2 separate regions of the Homo sapiens genome follow, and region 1 is linked to region 2. Evidence: promoter capture Hi-C in human tissues and cell types (Jung and others, 2019). All regions are on one chromosome and are shown on one strand. Each heading gives the region's core, a stretch centred on a gene start or on the middle of the fragment in contact. The rest is flanking DNA. Distances are from core to core; before and after follow the strand shown. Region 1 overlaps ONECUT3 (one cut homeobox 3). Region 2 holds the start of MEX3D (mex-3 RNA binding family member D).

Region 1 (5,534 bases), core at 2,609-5,108, 210 kb after region 2:
CTCAGCCTCCCAAAGTGCTGGGATTAGAGGCATGAGCCACTTCATCCAGCCTATTTAGTTATTATTTATTTATTTATTTATTTATTTATTTATTTATTTATTTTTGAGACGGAGTCTCGCTCTGTTGCCCAGGCTGGAGTGAGTGGTGTGATCTCAGCTCACACCTCTGCTTACTGGGTTCAAGCGACTCTCCTGCCTCAGCCTCCCCAGTAGCTGGGATTCCAAGCACCTGCCACCACACTCAGCTAATTTTTTTTGTATTTTTTGTGGAGACAGAGTTTCATCATGTTGACCAGGCTGGTCTCGAACTCCTGACCTCAAGCGATCCACCTACCTTGGCCTCCCAAAGTGCTGGGATTACAAGAATGAGCCACCATGCCCAGTGGGCCTATTTATATTTAAAAATTATTTATTTTAAAAGAGAGTCTTACTCTGTCACCCAGGCTGGAGTGCAGTGGTGAGATCATGCTCACTGTAGCCTTGAACCCCCAGCCTCAAGTGTTCCTCCTGCCTCAGCCTCCCAAAATGCTGAGATTACAGGCATGAGCCACTGCACCTGACCACATTTAAACTGGAAACTCATCTTTCAACGCTAGATTTTTTTTCATTATTTGATCATCTCTTCCTCTATTTTTGAACTGTCTCTTGATCAGGTGACAACCCTGCTTCATCTTAATTCATCCTCTAACTTTTTATTCTCTTTCATTTCCCATCTTTGCAGCTGCTTGTGTTCCATTTTCTGGGATATCTGCTTTACTCTTTTTTTTTTTTTTTTTTTTTTTTGAGATGGAGTTTCACTCTTGTTGCCCAGGCTGAAATGCAATGGCACGATCTTGGCTCACCACAACTTCTGCCTCCCAGATTCAAGCAATTCTCCTGCCTCAGCCTCCCGAGTAGCTGGGATTACAGGCATGCACCACCACGTCCAGCTAATTTTTTTTTTTTTTTTTTTTTTTTAGTAGAGACAGGGTTTCACCGTGTTAGCCAGGATGGTCTTGATCTCCTGACCTCGTGATCCGCCCGCCTCGGCCTCCCAAAGTGCTGGGATTACAGGCGTGAGCCACCGCGCCCGGCCAATATCTGCTTAACTTTATCTTCCAGTCCTTACATGGAATTATTTTACTCTGGCTGTTATATATTCACATTTTAAGAGCATTTCCTCACTCTCTAATGGTCCCTTTTACTTAACAGCATCCTGTACTTGTTTCATGGATACGATATTTTTCTCTTACTCCTCTGGGAATATTAATTATAGCTTTGCCTGCCTTGTCGGTTCCTTCTGAGTTTATTCCTCCCCCACCAAACCATTTTTCTCCATTGTTCTCCCCCCTCCTGCCTCCCTCCCTCTCTCTCTCTCCCTCTCTTTTTCATGTTAGACGCTTTTCTAAAATGTGCAGTAACCCACAGGCATCACTTGCATTTAATCATAAAACCTGAAACCGCAGTTAGAAGCCCCACACATTCCAGGTCAGAGGGAGTGAAGTGTGCGTCAGCTCACACCCTAGACGGGTGAACCTGTTGTCCCCGAGACATGAGTCATGGCAGAAGGAACATTCATTTATTTCTGTGGACGTGTATGGACATTGATCTAGCATGTCATGTTCCAGGCTGTTCTGCAACGAAAAGAAAAGCTCTCTGTGCCATTCCAGTAGGCCACGACGGCTGGCACAGAGAAGAGACTGGGAGCAGAGACCCACTAGTACTACCTGCACCACCGGCCACTTCTGGGGGTCACAGAGTAGCTGGAACTCCGGGATGGAGACAAGGGCAGGACAGCCTCTTCAGCACCACAGTCCCAGTCTGGATGCAGGAGAGAAATTGAGATTCTGATGGAGTTTCAAGCTGATGCCACAAATGAGCCCATCTGACTTGTGGCCCAGCTCCTAGTGGGGGAAGCCTGTGTTTTGTACCCACTGACACCCACTGCATTGAGGGGAGGGGTTCACTTCGCTGCTGGAGCAGGAAGAGCAGGACTCGGCTTCAGCCCTGCCCCATCACCCCGAGCCTTTGCTTTTCTCCCCTTTGCAAGTGTCTGGTCTGCAGGCCATGGGGCAGCCTCCTTCAGCCCTCTCCGTGATCTGTGCGGGCTGACCAAGAGGAAGGGTGACCTGCTCATCTGGGAGAGGAAGAGGTGGTCCCTGCACTCTCCCCTCCTCCTCCAAAGTCTTCTTTCTTAGATGTTCTGCGCTCCAGAGGGTCCACTGGGTGCTCGAGGGAGGCCAAGTCTGGGTGGTCTCAGCCTGTGGATAGGGGCAGGAGCAGGAGGCAGGGATTCAGATGTCGGAATTGGGCTGTGGACTCACAGGGTCCCTAAGGGTATCAGGCCTTACAGGAGTGTCGCTGCTGCTCATTCGTAGAGCTTGGTTGTCACAGCCAGTTGCCATGGCACACACCTGTAATCCCAGTGCTTTGGGAGGCTGAGGCCAGAGGATCACTTGAGGCCAGGCGTTCGAGACCAGCCTGGGCAACATAGCAAGACTTCCCCTCCGCAAAAAAAAAAAAGAAAAGAAAGAAAGGAAAGGCCCTGGTTAGCCCACCATTTCTGGGGAAGGCTGCTGGGTTTTGTGATGCACCCCAGGACCTAGTAATTAACCAGTTATTTCACCCAAGTCTACACTGAGCCAAAAACTCTCATGTGCAGTTTCCATGTCATTTCCCCAACACCCCCAGGTTGGGGCTGCAGAAAGGAGAGGAGAAAGTTACCAATATCAATTTCTGTGGTCCTTTAGGTAGGGAGCGTTTGAGGGTAGGACGGGGTTTGGGGGGTATGAGGCTTGGGGGGTGCCTGAGTGGGCTCCATGGAGAAGGGGGCTGGAGGGGGTGGTAGCCATGCCTGCAGAGGGGCACTCACACTGTGTCCCCTTCTTTGTCCTCCCCCCACCCCCACCGCATCTGCTTTCCCTGCCTGTCCTCGCCTTCCATTCTGTCTCCACCGCCCTCTGGCTGCATCCTGGACTTTCCTGTTGTCTCCCTGTTGACCTTGCTGTTTCCCTGTCTCTGTCTCTGTGCGTCCCTGTGTTCCCCGCTGTCTCCCCCTCCGCCTCTCCCTGCATTCTTGTTGCTTCTGGGCTCTCCCTGGGACCTTATGTGCATTCGCCTTTCCCCAACGTGTCCCTTCTCCCCTCCTCCTCATCCTCCGGGCGGCGTGCGCCTCCTGCCTCTCCCCGGCCGGCCACACGGTGGCGCTGTGTCCCGCTCGCCCGCCCGCCCGCCGCTCGCCCGCAGCCTGCAAGCGCAAGGAACAGGAGCAGCAGAAGGAGCGCGCCCTGCAGCCCAAGAAGCAGCGCCTGGTGTTCACCGACCTGCAGCGACGCACGCTGATCGCCATCTTCAAGGAGAACAAGCGGCCGTCCAAGGAGATGCAGGTCACCATCTCGCAGCAGCTCGGCTTGGAGCTCAACACCGTCAGCAACTTCTTCATGAACGCGCGGCGCCGCTGCATGAACCGCTGGGCTGAGGAGCCCAGCACGGCCCCCGGGGGCCCCGCCGGCGCCACGGCCACTTTCTCCAAGGCCTGAGGCGCCCCGGCCCCGCGCCCTCCCTGCCTCCACGGCCTGGGCGCTGTGCCCCCACGTCACCTCCCCACATCCTGCCGGCCCGGAGACCCGCCCCCAGGGGGCACCTGGAGGGGGTGCTATCCGGGCCCCCCACACCCGGGGAGGGGGAAGCAGCACACCCCCCAGCCCAAGTGCACAAAAAGGGCCCCCCTTCCTCCCTCCATGCCCACTCCCTCCAGGCCAAAGGAAGCCCTCCACCCCCCCCCGGAGGGGAGGGAGTGACAGAAAGGGGTTTCCCAGCCCCCTCTCCATTCAGGACGCCCAGAGGGCCTCGAGAAAAACCAGGGCTCACTGTGTTGTCCCCTAAAGCGGGTCAAGAAGCACATACTAGAAATATAAACCGGGTATTTAAAAATGGAATTTTAAAGAATAACCCCTCCTCCGTCAGATCCCCTGCCCCACCGAGGGAGGTAGTAGAAAACTTCCTTCCTCCCCACCCGCCCCGGCCCCCTCCCCAGGGACCTCAGCCCTTTCCAAAGTCGCCAAAAACCCACATCAAGCCGGATCCTTACGGTCCCCCACCCTCTCCAAAACCAACCCCACCCGCTGGCAGGACGGCCCCTGCGGCCGAGAACTGAGCTGCCCCTCTCTGCGGCCAGGATTCCTCGTGCCAAGAATCGCCTGCCTTAAAGTCTGGGGAGGGGCCTGCGGCGGGCGCCCAGCACCTACGGGCGAGCACCCTTCCCACCCCATCCCAGGCCGCAGGGGACGGGGGGCTCCCACGTGCGGGTAAATTCCAGACGCCCCCGCCCCGCCCCGTCTGTTGAGTTCACTTTACCTTTAGGCACCTTCGTGGAGCGCAAGGAAGGACGCAGCTCCGGACACGGGAGACCACGCCCAGGCTCCCAGGAGAAGGGGACCCGGCCGGAGAAGGCGCCGCTGGGGCCGCCCGGAGGAGCCCCTCTGCACGGGCCCGTGGAGACGCTTCCTGCGTGGAACCTTCTGGAATCCACCGCCCCCCTTTCCGCCCGCGTCAGGGTCTGAACTGGGCTTGCAGGGGGGCAGCGGGGTTGAACGTGGTGTTGGTTTCCACTCTCGCCAAAGAGAGAAGACGCCGAGGAAGGTGGATTCCGCTTGCTCCATTTTTTGCCAAAAATATTTACAAATGGGAAGGGTCGGAAATGAAGATGAGCGCCCCCCTCCCACCCCGCGCTCTCCCCCGCTCCTCTCATCTGGTCTGGGTGACCTCCGAGACTGGCCGGCCGCGGGATCCCAGGAGCCCGCCTCCTCCGGGGGTTCAAGATCCGAGTCTAGAAGGAACCTCCTCCCTGAAATCCCCCCACTCATCGGCTGCCTCCCAGGGAGGAGGCGGCCCCCCTACCCCCCTTGAAAATGCAAAAGACATTTCTAGTGAAATGCCCCTCCCCTCCCCCAGGTAAAGGCTACCTCACTCAAGCTCATGTCTGTGATTGGAAAATCACGCCTGATACCAAAGATTTCTCCCAAGGATTTGTGCTGGATGACAGGATTCCCTGGCCTGGGACCCGGCTCGGGGCCCCGCCTGCCGAGTGCCACCCCTTCCCGAACCTGAGAGCGAAAGAGAGAGAGAGAGAGAGGGAGAGAGAGGGAGAGAAAGGGAGAGAGGGAGGGAGAGGATCGTGAGGTCGAAGAGTGCCTTCTTCTTGAACCAAAGACGTGTATGGAGTGTTCTCTTGTCCTTATCGACTTGCTCTGCTCCCAGCTTTCCAAGCGACCGGATCTGAGTGATGCTTCTAGAACATTTGGGTGTTGGGGGGTTCCCAATAGTAGAAAGGGTCCCCATTCCTGCTCAGCACCGCACCTCTCTACCCCCCCACAGACACACATGCAGACACACACATGCAGACAACACGCAGACACACACATGCAGGCACTCACATGCAGGCCCATGCACACACACGTGCACACACATGCAGAGACATGCAGACACGCAGGCACACATGCACACATGCAAAGACACGCATGCAGGCACACGCAGACGCACACAGAGACACACAT
Region 2 (5,782 bases), core at 1,819-4,318:
ACTGGCCGTGCGCAGTGGCTCACGCCTGTAATCTCAGCACTTTGGGAGGTGGAGGTGGGCGGATCACTTGAGGTCGGGAGTTCGAGACCAGCCTGGACAACATGGTGAAACCCCGTCTCTACTAAAAATACAAAAATCAGCTGAGCGTGGTGGCTCACACTTGTAATCCCAGCTACTCAGGAGGCTGAGGCAGGAGAACTGCTTGAAACCAGAAGGCGGAGTTTGCAGTGAGCCCAGATCACGTCACTGCACTCCAGCCTGGGCGACAGAGCGAAACTCCGTCTCATAAATAAATAAATAAAACCAGCATCTTGCCCCAGAATCCTCTACCCTAATGGAGGTGAGACGTCCGCACATCACAGAGAGGGGCCGTCATCTGCGCAGGGCCACGGCGGCCTGCAGGACAAGCAATCAGGGCCCACTCTACCCCCGACCCCCACTGTACCCCAGGGCCTGCCTTGCTGACGGCCACCAGCAAGAGCCCAGTAAGTGGGTGCAGAACGCACAGGCCAGAGGTGGGGGCTGAGCCTGGTGCCCACAGACTCCATTTCCCATGGACCTGCCCCTAGAGAATTCCCACCCTGAGGCCACAGGTCTAGAAGCTCTCAGCCTGACGCTGATTCCTGCCAGCTCCCCATGTGGCCATAGCCTCGCTCAAAGGCCCTTGGGTGCCAGGACAAGCGCGTTCACAAAGAACACAGCCACAGCCTCCACCACCTGGAGGCTCAGGCTCGTGCCTTTGGTCACTTGGTCCCCAGGCCTCGGCTTGGACGCCTGTCTCCACAGGCTCCCAGACACTCCGCACAGGGCAGCTGTCCCGTTCTAGGCCCTGGGTATGGGACATGGAGGCCGGGTGGAAGGCCTCAATGGGGAGGCAGTAACAGGATGGTAGGGCGCCCTCCTGCCAGGGGGTCCCACCAAGGGCAGCCAGCAGGACTGAGACAGAACCCAGTCCCTCCCCACCCACCACTCCAGAGCATGCTTCCTGGGGCCAGCACCATGCCTGACCCTCCGTGGGTCCCCACATGAGCTGGACAAATGAACGACCAAAAGACAGGAGGCTGTGGTGCCCCACCCACCTGGACCGAGGGAAAGGGCGGAGGGGAGGGCGCCCTGGTGGTCCCCCGCCTGAGGCCAGGGCCATAGATGACCTTGCAATCCCAGCCCCCCACACCTTTCTCTGGCCTGGATTCCCGAGGGCCCCGGGGAGGCAGGGACCCCCAGCCCAAGTGTCCTGCGGCCCCACCACCAGCCCCGCCAAGGCCCCACCCCAAGTTCTAGAACCTGGCTGATCACTGGCGGTCAGCGGGGACCCAGGAGCGGGGAGGGGTGGCGGGAAGGCAGGAGAAAGTTGAGGGAGGCAGGCGGGCGGGTGGCTAACGGGGTGGTGGGTGTGAGCTGGGCCAGGCACTGCCCACCACCCGCCCGCCCGCCCCGCAGCTCGGGGGCCAATGAGCAGCGGCCGGCCTGATGTCACCCTGCAAATCTCAGCCTCGCTCTCTAACAAAGAGAACAATGGGGCGGCCAGAGGGAAGCTCCGACGATGCCACCGCTGGACCCCACACCCGGGGCCTGCCGCCCGCCGGCCTGCCCAGCAGGCTGCACCCCAGAAGTGGCTTTGACAGCCGGTCCTTCCCCAGGCCCCGAAATCCCTGACTCGGGGCCAGAGAGTGGAGCAGGGACCCTCTCCTGCCCGGTCCCGTCCCCACCCCAGTCAGGGCCCCAGGCTGGAGACTGAGACGTGCGCTCTTTGTACTGTCAGCCTTCTCTCCCGGTCCTGCAGGCGGCCCCCCTAAGCCACCCCTAAACCTGCGCTTGCCCCGCCCCGCCGCCTGTGCTGGGTGTGGGGCGCCCCCCGCCCGGCCGGAGCCCCGGGCCCTCGAGCCCCTCTCTGGGGTGCCCCTGCGGGCGGCCGAGGGCCTGGGCTGCGGCGCGGCTCCCCGGAGCCTTTCCGGGCTGGAGGCGGCCCAGACAAAGGCGGCGGCGGGGCCGGAGCGCGCAGGGGAGGAGCGCGGGCTGCGCCCAACTTTCTCCCGCGGCGGCTGCAGGACAAAGGCGCAAAGGCAGCGGCCGAGGCCGGAGCCCACGCGGGGCGTGTCCGGTGCGGGGCGTCCGGCGCGGGCTGGGCTGGGCTCGGGCGACCCCCTTCCCCGGGGCGGACGGTGCGGGGACCCCCAGGACAGCAACCCCCGACGAGGGCCACTCACCCTGGCGACCCACGATCTCGGCGACGTGCTCGGAGCTGGGCACCGGGACGCACTCGGTCATGTTGACGCTTTTCTTGCGGCTGCCGATCACGCTCATCTGGTCGGCCAGCAGCGTCGGGGGCCCCAGGGCCGCGGGGTGGGGCGCGAAGCCCGCGAACACGTCGGGGGGCGACGGCCGGGGCGGCGGCGGCGGCGGGGGACTCGCGTTGGGGTCCAGCAGCGGCAGCGACCCGGGGGCCACGGCGGGGGCCAGGGTCGGGGGCGCGCCGGCCTCAGGTCCGTCGGGGGGCACAGGCTCCGGAGCCGCCCCGCCGTCCGCGCCCCCCGCCGCCGCTGCGCCGTCCCCGGCCGCCCCCTCCTCGTCCGTGTCGCCAGCGCCCCCCAGCCCGAGCGCCGACAGCTGGTCCAGCGCCAGGCGGAGCGCGGCGGCCGCGTCGTCGGGTTCGGGCGGCGGCCGGGGCGCGGGCGCGGCCTCCTGGGCGCCCTCGGGCGGGGGCGCAGGTCCGGGTCCGGGGTCCTCCCCCGCCGCCCCCACGCCGCCGCCGCCGCCGCCCCCGCCCCCGCCGCCGTCGGGCTGGCCGAGCGAGCTGGGCATGGCGGGAGCTAGCGCTGGGGCCCGCGCTCCTGCCGCCCGCGCCGCCGCCGCCGCCCGCGCCGCCCTCCGCCTCTGCGAGCTGGGCCGCCGGCCGCCTGCATCCAGCGGCGGGGGCGGGCACGGGGGGCCGGGCGGGCGGGGCGGCGGCGGCGCGGGGCTGCTCGGGGCCGGGCCGGGCCGGGCCGGGCGGCGGCAGCGACTCTGGCTGCGGCTCGGCGGCGGCGGCGACGGCGGCGGCGGCTCCTCGGCGGCCGAGGCGGCGGCGGCGGCGCGGGACGCTCCTTCCCTCCCGCCGCCTCCCGCGGCCCCGCCCCGGCCCCGCCCCCGCGACGTCACGCCGCGGCCCAACAATGGGCGGCCCCCAGGGCGCAGGCGCGCGGGGCGGGGCCGGGGCGGGGCCGGCGCCGGGCACGTGGTCCAGGCCCCGCCTCCGCCCGGCGCTCGGGCGGGAACCCGGGCGCATCCGCACGTGCGGGCGCTGCTGCAGGTGTGTGCGGCTCAGCCCCTGCCTGGACAGCGCTCCCTCCCCAAGCCTGAGAGTCCCTGCCTCGCGCGCCCCAGGGCCCGAGGTCCCGCTCCCCAATTTCCCCTAGAGATCCGGGTCGCCCCCAAGCGAGGTCTCTTGCTCCACGCCCGCTTCCTTGTGCCAGGGACCCCCACCTCCCTGCATAAAGGCGTGGGGTCCTCTCCAAGTCCCCCTCGCGATCCCACTGGACTTCGAAGTCAGGCTCCTGCCCGCCCACCGCCTCTGTGCCAGGGTCCAACCCCCGCCCCACGGTGCACCCCCCAGGGCCTGGGGTCCCAGTCCCCAAGTACCCCTTGCTATCAGGTGGGCTTTAGGGTCAGGCCCCTGCCCCACCCCCAGCCTCTGTGCCAGGGACAGCTCCACAATCATGCACACCCCAGGGCCTGAGGTCCCTCTCCCCTAGTCTCTCCTAGCTCCCCTCTGGCTGGCTCCCGGCTTTGGGATCAGGCCACCTCCTCCACGCCACCTCCTCCGCCCCACCCAAGGCCACAGACCCGGTCTCTGTGCCCCCAGCCAGAGACCTCTCTACCACAGTGGTGCTTCCATGGCGAGGGCAGGCTCACACCAGCCAGAACCCTCCATGTGGAGCCCCACCCTCTTCTGGGGTGCCTTTCCCCGCAACGGGCGTTGTCCACCTCTAAAGCCACCCTTGCCGGGCGCGGTGGCTCATGCCTGTCATCCCAGCAGTTTGGGAGGCCGAGGCGGGTGGATCACGAGGTCAGGAGTTAGAGACCAGCCTGGCCAACATGGTGAAACCCCCGACTCTACTAAAAATACAAAAATTAGCCAGGCGTGGTGGCGCGCACCTGTAATCCCAGCTACTCAGGAAGCTGAGGCAGGATAATTGCTTGAACCCTGGAGGTGGTGGTTGCAGTGAGTCGAGATTGCACCACTGCACTCCAGCCTGGTTGACAGAGCAAGACTCCTCTCAAAAAAAAAAAAAAAAAAAAAAAATAGCCGCTTTCCCAGCGGCTCTTCCTCCAGCTGTCCTTCGGGGCCTTCCTTGCACCTGTGGGGTTTTTTGTGATAAACCTGTCTGGCTGGGTCTACCTGCCCCCCTCTTCTACCAGACCTGTCCCTGGCTGGCTGTGCAAACTTGGACCGAAGGCAGGGCTCTCTGGGCAGGAGTGGGGCAGCCTGCCCCTTTGCCTAGCAAGGCTTCTCCTCTGTCCCCTCCCCCCGCCTCACACACCCTGGGTCCCCCTCAGCCACTCTTCTAGTCCCTCAGCCACAGCCACCCACTGCTGGGCCCTTCACTTTTGGTGGCTTCTCTGCCCACTTCTTCCAGGCAGGCAGGGTCAGGATCCCCCTGCCTGGAGCCCTTCCCCACCCAAAATCTCTCTCCTGACCCCAGGCTGCATCCAGCCCCACTTCCCCTCCTGGGGTCCTGGACTTCTCTTTCGTGCACGCCCATGCTTGGAATTGTTTTTCTATCTCTCTTTCTTTCTCTCTTTCTTTTTTTCTCTTTCTTTCCTTTTTTTCTTTCTTTCTTCCTTTCTTTCTTTTCTTTTTCTTTCTTTCTCTTTCCTTTCTTTCTCTTTTTTCTTTTCCTTTTCTTTCTTTCCTTTTTTTCTTTCTCTTCCTTTTCTTTTTTCTGTCTTTCTTTCCTTCTTTCTTTTCTTTCTTCTCCTTCCTTCCTTGCTTCCTTCCTTTTCTTTCATCCTTTATTTCGTTCTTCATTTCTTCTTTTCTCTCCCTTCCTTCCTTCCTTCCTTCTTTCTTTCTTTTTTTTTTTTTAGACGGAGTCTCGCTCTGTCACCCAGGTTGGAGTGCAGTGGTGCAGTCTTGGCTCACTGCAAGCTCCGCCTCTGGGTTCACGCCATTCTCCTGTCTCAGCCTCCCGAGTGGCTGGGACTACAGGTGCCTGACGCCACACCCAGCTAATTTTTTGTATTTTTTGTAGAGACAGGGTTTCACCGTATCAACCAGGATTCTCCCTTCCTTCTCTGCTCCCCTCCCCTCTCCTCTCCTTTCCTTTTCTTTCTTTTTCGGACAGAGTCTTGCTCTGTTGCCCAGGCTGGGGTGCAGTGGCTATTCACAGGTGTGACCCCAGGACAGATCAGCATGAGAGCTTTGACCAGCTCCGTCTCTGACTTGGGTAGGTTCAGCCCTCCTTAGGCAACCTGGTGGTCCTCCCAGTCCAGGGAGGTCATCATATTAATGTAGACGCTGGATCAGCATAGCTCACTACAGCTCAGAACTCCCGAGCTCAAGCAATCCTCCCGCCTCAGCCTCCTGAGTAGCTGGGACCACAGGTGTGCACCACCACACCGGGCTACTTTTTGTATTTGTAGAGACAGGGTCCTTTTTGTTGCCCGGGCTAGTCTTGAACTCCTAACCTCAAGCAATCCTCCTGCCTCAGCCTCCCAAACTGCTGGGACTACAGGTGGGTAACACTATGCCCAGCCACTTGCAATTATTAATGGCATTGTCAGCCGGGCGCCGGGCGCGGTG

The links. The method cuts DNA at HindIII sites, captures the fragments that hold promoters and counts their contacts. A contact is called where the count stands out against the background at its distance.
Region 1: a contact is called between a fragment that was not itself captured here and the fragment with the promoter of MEX3D in region 2, in 3 of the 25 tissues and cell types used here (IMR-90 fibroblasts, liver and lymphoblastoid cells).

The regions. Positions count from the first base shown.
Region 1 is chr19:1,771,928-1,777,461 of GRCh38, forward strand. It overlaps ONECUT3 (one cut homeobox 3), which reads left to right. Exons shown (of 2, transcript NM_001080488.2): 2 at 3,226-5,534. The coding sequence ends at 3,518. It overlaps LOC101928543 (a long non-coding RNA gene), which reads right to left and starts at 2,423. Exons shown (of 5, transcript XR_007067085.1): 1 at 2,331-2,423; 2 at 2,109-2,240; 3 at 1,707-1,800; 4 at 1,516-1,613. The HindIII fragment of the contact is 5,328 bases long and covers 1,195-5,534 here.
Region 2 is chr19:1,565,257-1,571,038 of GRCh38, forward strand. It overlaps MEX3D (mex-3 RNA binding family member D), which reads right to left and starts at 3,069. Exons shown (of 2, transcript NM_203304.4): 1 at 2,208-3,069. The coding sequence starts at 2,802. It also overlaps the pseudogene RN7SL477P. RefSeq lists silencers at 3,069-3,258, 3,299-3,348. The HindIII fragment of the contact is 18,806 bases long and covers 1-5,782 here.